2 separate regions of the Homo sapiens genome follow, and region 1 is linked to region 2. Evidence: promoter capture Hi-C in 16 types of primary human blood cells and fetal thymus (Javierre and others, 2016). All regions are on one chromosome and are shown on one strand. Each heading gives the region's core, a stretch centred on a gene start or on the middle of the fragment in contact. The rest is flanking DNA. Distances are from core to core; before and after follow the strand shown.

Region 1 (5,259 bases), core at 328-2,827, 680 kb before region 2:
CTATTCAGGAGGCTGAGGCAAAAGAATCATTTGAACCTAGGCGGCAGAGGTTGCAGTGAGCGGAGATTGCACCACTGCACTCCAGCCTGGGCGACAAAGCAAGACTCCATCTCAAAAAAAAAAAAAAAAAAAGATGTTATCTTAGATCCAGCCAGGTGTGATGGCTCACGCCTGTAATCCTAGCACTTTGAGAGGCAGAGGCAGGCAGATCACCTGAGGTCAGGAGTTTGAGACCAGCCTGATCAACATGGTGAAACCCCATCTCCACTAAAAATACAAAATTAGACAGGCATGGTGGTGCGCACCTGTAATCCCAGCTACTCGGGAGGCTGAGTCAGGAGAATGGCTTGAGCCTGGGAGACAGAGGTTGCAGTGAGCCGAGACTGAACCACTGCACTCCAGCCTGGGCAACAGAGCTAGACTCCGTCTCAAAAAAAAAAAAAAAAAGAAGAAGTTAACTCGGCCAGGCGTAGTGGCTCACATCTGTAATCCCAGCACTTTGGGAGGCCAAGGTGGGCAGATCACGAGGTCAGGAGTTCAAAACCAGCCTGGCCAACATGGTGAAACCCCGTCTCTACAAAAATACAAAAAAATTAGCCAGGTGTGGTGGTGTGCACCTTTAATCCCAGCTACTCAGGAGGCTGAGGTAGGAGAATTGCTTGAACCGGGAGGAAAGGTTGCGGTGAGCCCAGATCACGCCATTGCACTCCAGCCTGGGCAGCAAAAGCGAAACTCTGTCTCAAAAACAAAAAAAGTTACCTTAGATCCAATCAATGACTAGTCACTGAGCAGCTGAGGAGGAATGATTTTCCAACCCACTCCAAGCCTTATCCATAAACCTAGCTCTTTAAGAAGAAAAATGAAATTTGGGGAAATAATGAGAAGAAAAGATAGCACTGGTTGAAGACCACCATGGTCTCCAGCACTGCTTGTAGGAAACCTATGTGGTGGTAGAAAAAAAAAACCGGTTAGGAGCTGAGCAGAAAGGAGCTGGAGAATTTCACAGAAACCCAGCCTGGGCATCCAGGCATGTTTATCTTCCATGACGAACTACAAAAGGCTAAATCCTCACTATTGCCCTCGGGAAATAGTTCTGTCCCCTCTAGTGTACTATGACTTTAAGAACATACGTAATCCTTTAATATTTTTCTAAAAATCCTGGGTAAACCTGAGGCAATGCACTTGAAGCCAAAAGGCTCTTCATTCACAGCACATCTGGCTGCAGTACATTACAGTGGTGCCCACTTCAGGCCGGAGACAGGGAGAGCGTATGACCTATTGAAGATTTAGGAGGATCTGGTGGATGCGGGGTTTAATACTTTTATTATCTGAAAGAAGCTTGAAGCTAAATTAGAAGGCTCTTGGATTATAGGTGTCATGGTGATTTACGTGAGACTGAAATTCTCATACTGAGAAAGACGGAATAGAACATCTAAAATGAGATCAGATCCTAAAATAGTCAAAAGATTAAGTACAAGGCTCTATTTTAGTAAAATTCACATTGTTGAAACTTTCATGGATTATCTTTAATCTGTCGCTGACTTTTAGAGTGTATCTTTTGTGTGATCAGGCGCCCTCTGCTGCCTTCAAGTTGAAGTGCAGAAGAGAAAAAAAATCTATTAATAATAGATTAAATTTTAGGAAAATATGCTAACTTCTAATTATCCTCACCACAAGTAATCAATGTGATTGGAAGGTTCTGCCAAGTGTGGTATGGATTACGTGGCTCTTTGCACGTTTCCCAGCAGGAAAGTGGGAATAATGAACTAGTTCACCTATTACACAGGATTCTTGGGAAAATCAAGTGAAACAATAATAAAGCTTAGGAAAGAGGCCAGGCGCGGTGGCTCACGCCTGTAATCCCAGCACTTTGGGAGGCTGAGGCGGGTGGATCACGAGGTCAGGAGATCAAGACCATCCTGGCTAACACGGTGAAACCCCGTCTCTACTAAAAATACAAAAAATTAGCCGGGCGCGGTGGCGGGCGCCTGTAGTCCCAGTACTCGGGAAGCTGAGGCAGGAGAATGGCGTGAACCCGGGAGGCGGAGCTTGCAGTGAGCCAAGATCGCACCATTGCACTCCAGCCTGGGCGACAGAGTGAGACTCCGTCTCAAAAAATAAAAATTAAAAATAAATAAAATAAAGCTTAGGGAAGTAAAAAAGCAAAACACAAAGGCTTTTTTTTTTTTTTTTTGAGACAGAGTCTCACTCTGTCACCCAGGCTGGAGTGCAGTGGCACTATCTCAGCTCACTGCAACCTCCGGCTCCCAAGTTCTTACCTCAGCCTCCCAGGTAGCTGGGATTACAGGCATCTGCCACCACACCCAGCTAATTTTTGTATGTTTTATAGAGACAAGGTTTCACCATGTAGGCCAAGCTGGTCTCAAACTCCTGACCTCACGTGATCCACCCGACTGGGCATCTTAAAGTGCTGGGATTACAGGCGTGAGCCACCATGCTGGCCTTACTGAATTTTTCCCACTTCTTTGAATCCATTCCAGAGAGAGGAATAATAAGATTTCCAACTATAATCAGGGATTTATCTATGTGTTGCTTATATACAATAAACTGTATATATTTCAAGTGTGCACAGGTGGCTGGGGTGAGGCAGGTGGCTGCTGAGGAGCAAGAGGGATCTACAGTTGTCCCCTGCCCTATGAGAAGGGCCACCCACTCAGGAGGGGCCTCAAGGGATGATGAGAAATGAGTATGGAATTTGTCAGCCTTGAAGTTCCAAATTGGAAACCTGGAAACATGTGTCCCGTCTTCTTCATCAAGATTGTCCAATTTTTTTTCTTTTTTTTTTTTTTTTTTTTTGAGACGGAGTCTCACTCTGTCTCCCAGGCTGGAGGGCAGTGGCGCTATCTCGGCTCACTGCAAGCTCCGCCTTCCGGGTTCACGCCATTCTCCTGCCTCAGCCTTCCAAGTAGTTGGGAAAACAGGCGCCCGCCACCATGCCCGGCTAATTTTTTTTTGTATTTTTAGTAGAGACGGGGTTTCACCATGTTAGCCAGGATGGTCTCGATCTCCTGACCTCGTGATCCGCCCGCCTCAGCCTCCCAAAGTGCTGGGATTACAGATATGAGCCACCGCGCCCGGCCGATTTTCCAGTGTCATAGCATAAAGCAATAAGTGATGTTCTTCTAATTAAAACAATAAATTAAAGTGTAGAATTTAATATGTATTAATACTATCAAGGTCTGGCCAGGCACAGTGGCTCACGCCTGTAATCTCAGCACTTTGGGAGGCCGAGGCAGGCAGATCACAAGATCGGGAGATCGAGACCATCCTCGCTAACACAGTGAAACCCCGTCTCTACTAAAAATAGAAAAATTAGCCAGGCGTGGCGGCATGTGCCTGTAGTCCCAGCTGCTGGAGAGGCTGAGGCAGGAGAATGGCGTGAACCCGGGAGGCAGAGCTTGCAGTGAGCTGAGATCGCGCCACTGCACCCCAGCCTGGGCGACAGAGTGAGATTCCATCTCAAAAAAAAAAAAAATACTATCAAGGTCAAATAAAAATATAGAGATGGATCTCTAAACAAAACACCTTGTATGGGAATCATAGAATTATATTTTGAGGCATATCCACAGGCTGGGGTGAACTTCAATATGTCCAAAGAACAAAGAGAAGGTTGGGGGTTTTATTAAAAAGAGAAATGTGGCCAGGCGCGGTGGCTCATGCCTGTAATTCCAACACTTTGGGAGGTCAAGGTGGGTGGATCATTTGAGATCAGGAGTTCAAGACCAGCCTGGCCAACATGGTGAAACCCCATCTCTACTAAAAATACAAAAGTTAGCTGGACGTGGTGACATATGCCTGTAATCCCAGCTACTCGGGAGGCTGAGGCAGGAGAACTGCTTGAACCTGGGAGGCAGAGGTTGTAGTGAGCCAAGACTGTGCCACTGCACTCCAACCTGGGCAACAGAGTGAGACTCCGTCTCAAAAAAAAAAAAAAAAAAAAAAAAAAGAAATGTGGCTGGGCATGATGGCTCACACCTGTAATCCTAGCACCTTGGGAGGCCAAGGTGGGCAGATCATTTGAGGTCAGGAGTTCAAGACAAGCCTTGCCAATATGGTGAAACCCGTCTCTACTACAAACACAAAAATTAGCTGGGCGTGGTGGCACACACCTGTAATCCCAGCTACTCGGGAGGCTGAGGCAGGAGAATCACTTGAACCCGCGAGATGGAAGTTGCAGTGAGCTGAGATCGCACCGAGATCACCTGGGTGACAGAGCGAGACTCAGGCTCAAATAAATAAATAAATAAATAAATAAATAAATAAAATAAAAAGAAACTCTTGATTAGTTTCCATTTTTCTAGGGTTTTACAAAATGGAATCCTACAGCCAGGGACAGTGGCTCCCACCTGTAATCCCAGCACTTTGGAAGTCTGAAGTGAGTAGATCACCTGAGGTCAGGAGTTCAAGACCAGCCTGGCCAACATGGCAAAACCCCATCACTACTAAAAATATAAAAATTGGCCAGGCTGTGAGATCGTCTCCCATAGCATTGAGCTGATTTCTGTGGTTCCTTAGGTCATGGGGGTAGGGTGAGGCCTGCTTCAATCTTACCCTTTTGGGGCAGAACTCTTGAAATCTTGGCTTAATCTGGGGAGTTCTCTCTTAGATCCCACCTTGGACACCCTTGGATTTGATTATGTTTTTCTTGCCCTTGGAGGCTGTCAAAACCAAAGGTAAGTATGGCAAGATCGGCTCATGCGTGAAACTAAAAGCTGTCTCAGAGCCCAGTGGCCTGTTTTTGTTGCTACTTTCCATTAAGGTCTGACTTGGTAATTCCTTATTAGCTTTCGGATGCCTTTCTGATGTTATTTGTGTCTACCATATTCCTTAAAAGGCAGCATTGCTTCGTTTTTAAATGGTGGGTTTTTGGGAGGTTTTTCTGAGACGGAGTCTTGCTCTGTAGCCCCGGCTGGAGTGCCAGCAGCATGATCTTGGCTCACTGCAACCTCTGCCTCCTGGGTTCAAGCAATCCTCCTGCCTCAGCCTTCCAAGTAGCTGGGATTACAGATCTGCACCACCACGCTCAACTAATTTTTGTTTTTTTAGTAGAGACAGGGTTTCACCATGTTGGCCAGACTGGTCTTGAATTCCTGACCTCAAGTGATCTGTCTGCCTCGGCCTCCCAAAGCACTGGGATTACAGGCGTGAAGCATCACACCCAGGTAAATGAAGTCTGTTATTGTTGTTGTTATTGTTGTTTTGAGATGAAGTCTCACCCTATCACCAGGCTGGAGTGCA
Region 2 (5,330 bases), core at 1,252-3,751:
TCCCCAGGCAGAGATGGCCGCTCCTGCTCTGGGCTCCCCCAGACCATCCTCTAGACAGCATGCCTTGTGTCTCTTCCTCAGTGTATGGTTATCGTCATGACCACCCTGAGGGTTTAATGGTGTGTGCAAGGTCCTGCAGCTTTACCACTCGACATCAGCAGGCAGCCTCCCCTCTTGGCTGCGGTTTTCTCATCTGTAATAATGCCTTCCTCCGGGCAGGTAGAGGGACAGAGTGTAGAAGGAATGTGCTACAAAAGCAGCCCTGGCAGGGTTAGGGGACCTGTGACCGGTGCAGGGGCACAGGGCCCGAGCTGGGAAGGGCACCACACCGGGCTCAACATCCTGCCCTTGATGCCCTGGGGTTTTGGGGTTTGGGGGTTTTGATCAAGGGGGCTCCACATTTTCATATTTTCATTTTGCATGGGGCCTTGCAAGTGATGGAGGCAGGGCAGCAGGCTGTGGTCTGGACCTGCCGCCTGCCCCCTTCGCTGGCTTCCCTGGGCATGTCCCTCCATGTTTTCATCTATATATGGGCTCATAGAAATAAATCAGATCAGGCAAAGCAGCAGCCAAAATGATCCCCATCGTCTCCTCCTGCAGCCTAGACAGACATCAATCATGGATGATCATGGCTGTCTCCTGTTGACCCTCGGAATCCACCTCAACACAGATCTCCGCCCGTTCCAGCAGCGCCAGCCTGGGTGCCACTTGCTGTGCGTGGAGCTTCAGACCCAGCCCAGGTGCCAGCCCATGGCCACCTCCTCCAGGAACTCCCCTAACTCACAGGTCCACATACTCTAAAGTGGACTTCTTTGGGGAAGGAGGCGAGGCCTGGTGGGAAACCCAGACAGGTAGGTGCTCCATCCAGTTGACAAGCACTGGGTGGGGGCGGGAGGGTGGGGGGGAGGTCCTAGGTTGAGTGAACCAATCAGACATGGGCCCCACCCCCTCCAGAGAGCAGCTGTGGGAAGGCTGTGCCCACTGGACCCTGGCAGAGAGCAGGAAGGGCTGGAGGACCCGTATGCCCCTGGGCAGCTCTCTTGGCCTCCTGGTCTCAGTGTTCCTGTCTGTCCATGGCAGTGGGGAGGGACGGCGCATATCCAGTGTTGTACCCCTGCCTCTCCTACCCACCCGCCACTCTCCTGTACCAGGCTCTGAGGGTAAGCCCCCACTTCTCCCCTTCCTTGGAGCCAGGGAATAGGTCACAGAAGTTGGCACGAGATGGGGTCTTAGGAGCTCCCAGCAGGCTGGCGGGTGGTGTGACAGTCCTGCTGTGCGATGATCTCATCATCAGGTGGGAGGGGTCCTTCCTGTCTGCCCCTGGGCCCACTGACGCCCGTTTCTTATGAGTACGGGGGATGGGGGAGCAGGTAGCAAGTGTAGACCGAGAACATTAAAAGGAGATGATACAACTCAGCTGGGAGTGGGGGACAGCCCCCCAATGCGTGACCTTGAGCAAGTCCCCGAGCCTCCGTGAAGTGGGGCTCTTGAACACACCCCAGAGGGCAACAGTTCTCCATTTCCAGGCCTGAGCTGACAGCACCGCGCCCACAAACCTCGCTGACCTCTGACTGCTCCGAGAGGGGGCTGTGGCCCGGGCGCTGTGGGCAACTCCTTCGTGGGTCTCCTGCGGGGCGCCCTGGAGAGGCTCGGTGAGGAAAGAGGCCCCAAGTGGCAACGCCCAGGGCTGCCGGCTCCCGCGCCCCCTCCTCGATTTCCAGCCTGGTCTGAGCTCACAGGGGAAGACCCGAGATCCTGCTCTCAGTTGGCGGACCCCACCGCAGTCTGGGACGGAAGCCCCCTCCCTGGCCCGAATCCGCTCCACACCCCAAGTCTGGCCCAAGAGAAACGTGGGCGTCAAGGCCTCGGGCTTCCTGAGCCGGTTGTCACTGCCCCCACCGCGCACGTGGAGCGTGCGGCAGAGCCCAGGGGTCTAGGGAGGGACCAAGGGCTGGGGGCGGAGTTACAGTGCGGGGGCGGAGCCTCGGCGTCTCAGGACCCAACCAGGTCGGGTCAGGTTTGGAGGCGGAGCTGGCGCCGAGAGGCGGGGCGCAGGATGCGGTGCCGCGGGGCAGCAGAACAGAACCGAATAGGTCTCAGACTCCCAGCGCGGCCTGGGGACATGACCTCCGGGCCAAAGAGGAGTGGGGGAGGCTAGAGGTCTCCCCGGGGCGCGGGCGGGGCCGAACCAGGAAGGGGCGGGGCATCGAGCGGGGCGGGGACAGTGCCTTGAAGGCCCAGACGGACAGGGGCGGGGCCGCAGCGCTGGGGTCGGAGCCAGCGCCGTAAAGAGCGAGGCGGGCGGGGGCGCGGTCGCGGCTCTGGGGGCGGAGCCAGAGCAACGAAGAGCCGGGCTGGCGGGGGCGTGGCCGCGGCGCTGGGGGCGGAGCCGGAGAGGTGCAGGGCCCGGCAGGAGGCACGGGGCGGGGCCGGAGCGCCGGGGGCGGGGCGGGAGGTGCGGCGGCCGACGACGCTCAGGCCCGGCCCCGCCCCGTGCCTCCAGCCCGCCAGGAGCGCCCTCGCAGTGGCCGCCTGCTCCGCCGCTCGCCGCCCGCGGGTTCCATTGAGAAAAGCCGAGCGGCCGCGGCGGCGGCGGCGAGTGCGCGGGAGCGGAGGAGCCGGCACCCGCCCGTCGGGCAGTCCGCGCGCCCGCAACGCAGGACCGTGGCCTCTCGGGCCTCCGCGGCAGCTCCAGCGGCTCCGGGGCTGGGCGCGCGGGCTGGGGGCGCGGGCCGGGGCGGCCGCGGAGACCGGGGGCCGGGGGCATGAGCGGCCCCGCGGCCCCGCCGCGCCCCCGCCGCCCGCCGCCGCCCGCCCGGGGCTAGAGGCGGCCGCCGGGAGGGCGCGCGGCGCCGGAGACATGTCCAGGCGGAAACAGAGCAACCCCCGGCAGATCAAGCGTGAGTCAAACTTTGCCCGCGGTCCCCTCCGCGCGCCCGACCCCCGCCGGAGCCCAGCCGCCAGCGCCGCCCCCGCCCGTCCCCGCTCTGCCCTGGGCGCCGGCGACCTTCACCCCGCGCCGCGCCCCCCGCGCTGTGCCAAGCGCGCCGTAATCTAATCTCCGCCGGCGGCCTGGGCCCCCGCGTCTCGGCTTGGGCACCGGGGGGTTCAGCCCAGGAGGGGGCCGCCCGGAGGCCGGGAGGAGGGTGTTTGGGGGCGCGGCCCGGGCAGCTCGGCCCCTCGCGGCCTGCCCCTCCCCCGCATCTGCGAGATGGTGCGGCGATAGGGCGGCCCCGATCTGGGCTCAGATAAAGTTTAAAATATTACATTCTGCAAGTCCCGTCCTGATAAGATCGTTCTGTCGGGACGGGCTGAAATTGTGATCTTATCTCGCGCGGTTGACTCTCCCAGGCTTTGTATCTAGAAGCGAAGAGAGAGACCTGGGAGGCAGAGGGGACACCCGGGGCCGCGGAGATGCCTGGCCAAGTGGCAGGCACCGGCCCGCGCCCACCCCCACCGGTGCCGTCGCAGAGCCGCAGGACAGGGGAGGGGGTAGCGCGCAGCTGCCGCAGCCTAGGCACTTGGCTCCAGCCCCCCAGACACCCCCACCCCGTGCCCTAGCGCTGAAGTCCTGAACCCAGGCCCCGCCAGCCTGGTGACACCTCCTGGACCCTGCAAGTGTCCCAGCCAAGGCGGCATGGGCAACAAATGGTGCCCTCGGATGCCCGCGGGCACCCCCTGGCATCCCAATGGGCTGCTCTGAGTCAGAGAAGGGCCTCCCAGGACGCAGCCCCGGGCCGGGGTCGCCCCTGCACGCCACTAAGTTTCTCGCTGGTCCGGCTCCCTGCCCGGTCAGAGGCTGCTGCCCCGCCGCCACATTGCCAGTGCCCCCGCGATGAGAACTAAGCTGTCGGGGCCACTGTCTGGCCTGGGCCTCTGGGCTGTGCCAGGAGGGAGCAAGAGCACAGGAAGCTACCCTCCCCACCCTATGCCAATAATAACTTTGCGCCTCACAGTTAGGGCCCAGACGCAGGTCTTCCTCCCCGGGGCGCCTCCCCGGAGCCTGACGGGCAGGTCGTCTGAGCCCTGCCAGGAGGCCACGACGGAAACCCGCCCGCTGCCCAGCCGTAGGCGCCCGGGCACTACCTCCTTTGTCCACACGACCACTGCCACCAGGACCCCTTGTGCGGGGCCTGTGGGAGCTTCCCTACTCAGGAGGTCTCCCGAGGCGGGGGTCACAGGCATGAACCGGTTCCCGTAACCCAACTCCCTCAGCGCAAACGGGACCTGTTTTCCGAAAGTCGCCTTCTATCGTGTCAACTCAAGTATTAAAAGCCACCCACAGGTCCCGATCCGCGCTTGTGCTCTGGTTTCTTTTTCCTTCCTTCCCTGAGCGCCTATGTTCGGTTCTGGGGTGTGTGTGTGTGTGTGTGTGTGTGTGTGTGTGTGTGTGTGGTGTTTCACTGTGATGAGAAATGCAGATAGCTCGGACAGGGAGATCGCAGGTTGGAAACCGATCTCCAGCGCTGATAAGGCCGCCAGCGCCAGCGAGAGCCCGTAGCCCAGCCCAGCGGGGCGGGCAGAGCGCGCGCACTTTGGGAACTGGGACCGCGGCGGGTGCACGGTGAGCCACCGCGGCCCATCCTCGTTGCGGCCCGGGACCGGGGCAGAGAAAGGGCCCGGACGAGGAAGGCAGGGCCGCGGACCCTCCCTGTCGCTCGCGGCCCGGGGCGCCTCCTCCCCATGGCAGATCTCAGCACGTTAAGATGCGAAGGCTGATTGTCACCAAGCGGCGGCGCCCGCCCGCCCGCCCTCTTGCCAGCGCCTGTGCCTGCCCGCTGCCCTGGCCTCACCTGCGGCCGGGCCGCGAGTGCAGAGCGGAGGGGGCCGAGCGCTTCGGGCCGCCCACCCCCCACCCGCGCCCCCATCAAAGCCCTGGCGCAGCTGCCCGCGCCTCTGTGCGCCTTTTGTTCCGTGCGGAGATAGATGTGCCGCGCTGATAAGGCGCGCAACCGATGGTGGCTGAGATAGGCGCTTCCATTTATTAACTTCAAACGTGGGAGCGGGGGCAGGGCGAGGCGGGAGCGCGGCCTTGGCCGGCCAGATGGCGGAGGCGATAGGCCGGGCTGCCGACGGGGAGCGCGGGGCCGGGGCAGCTCGGGACCCCCGGCGCCCCCAGCCCGCTGGGTTTTCCTCCCGCCCGAGTCGATGTGAGCTCCGATAAGAGCCTGGCCGGTCGGCCCGATGGCGATCGCCAAGAGCGATAAGAGGCCTTATCTTTGGCCACCAGGCCCGGCCGGGTTGGAGAACAGCGCGGGGGCGCCGCGACTGGGGCGAGTGGGGGCTTGGAACGGCCCGGGTTGGGGCCGGGGAGCCGGCGTCCCTGCGCT

Evidence for each region. The method cuts DNA at HindIII sites, captures the fragments that hold promoters and counts their contacts. A CHiCAGO score of 5 or more calls a contact.
Region 1: a fragment that was not itself captured here is called in contact with the fragment with the promoter of ZFPM1 in region 2 in 1 of 17 cell types (activated CD4 T cells); the score reaches 5.2 in activated CD4 T cells.

Annotation. Positions count from the first base shown.
Region 1 is chr16:87,767,806-87,773,064 of GRCh38, forward strand. All of the region lies in intron 1 of LOC105371399 (a long non-coding RNA gene), which reads left to right. All of the region lies in intron 3 of LOC102724467 (a long non-coding RNA gene), which reads right to left. Among named protein-coding and RNA genes, the nearest start is that of KLHDC4, 4.4 kb to the left of the region's middle. RefSeq lists a silencer at 5,160-5,259. The HindIII fragment of the contact is 483 bases long and covers 1,337-1,819 here.
Region 2 is chr16:88,450,779-88,456,108 of GRCh38, forward strand. ZFPM1 (zinc finger protein, FOG family member 1) reads left to right here and starts at 2,502. Exons shown (of 10, transcript NM_153813.3): 1 at 2,502-2,900. The coding sequence starts at 2,861. RefSeq lists silencers at 2,227-2,526, 2,537-2,626, 3,087-3,216, 3,437-3,506, 4,447-5,156 and 1 more. The HindIII fragment of the contact is 8,831 bases long and covers 1-5,330 here.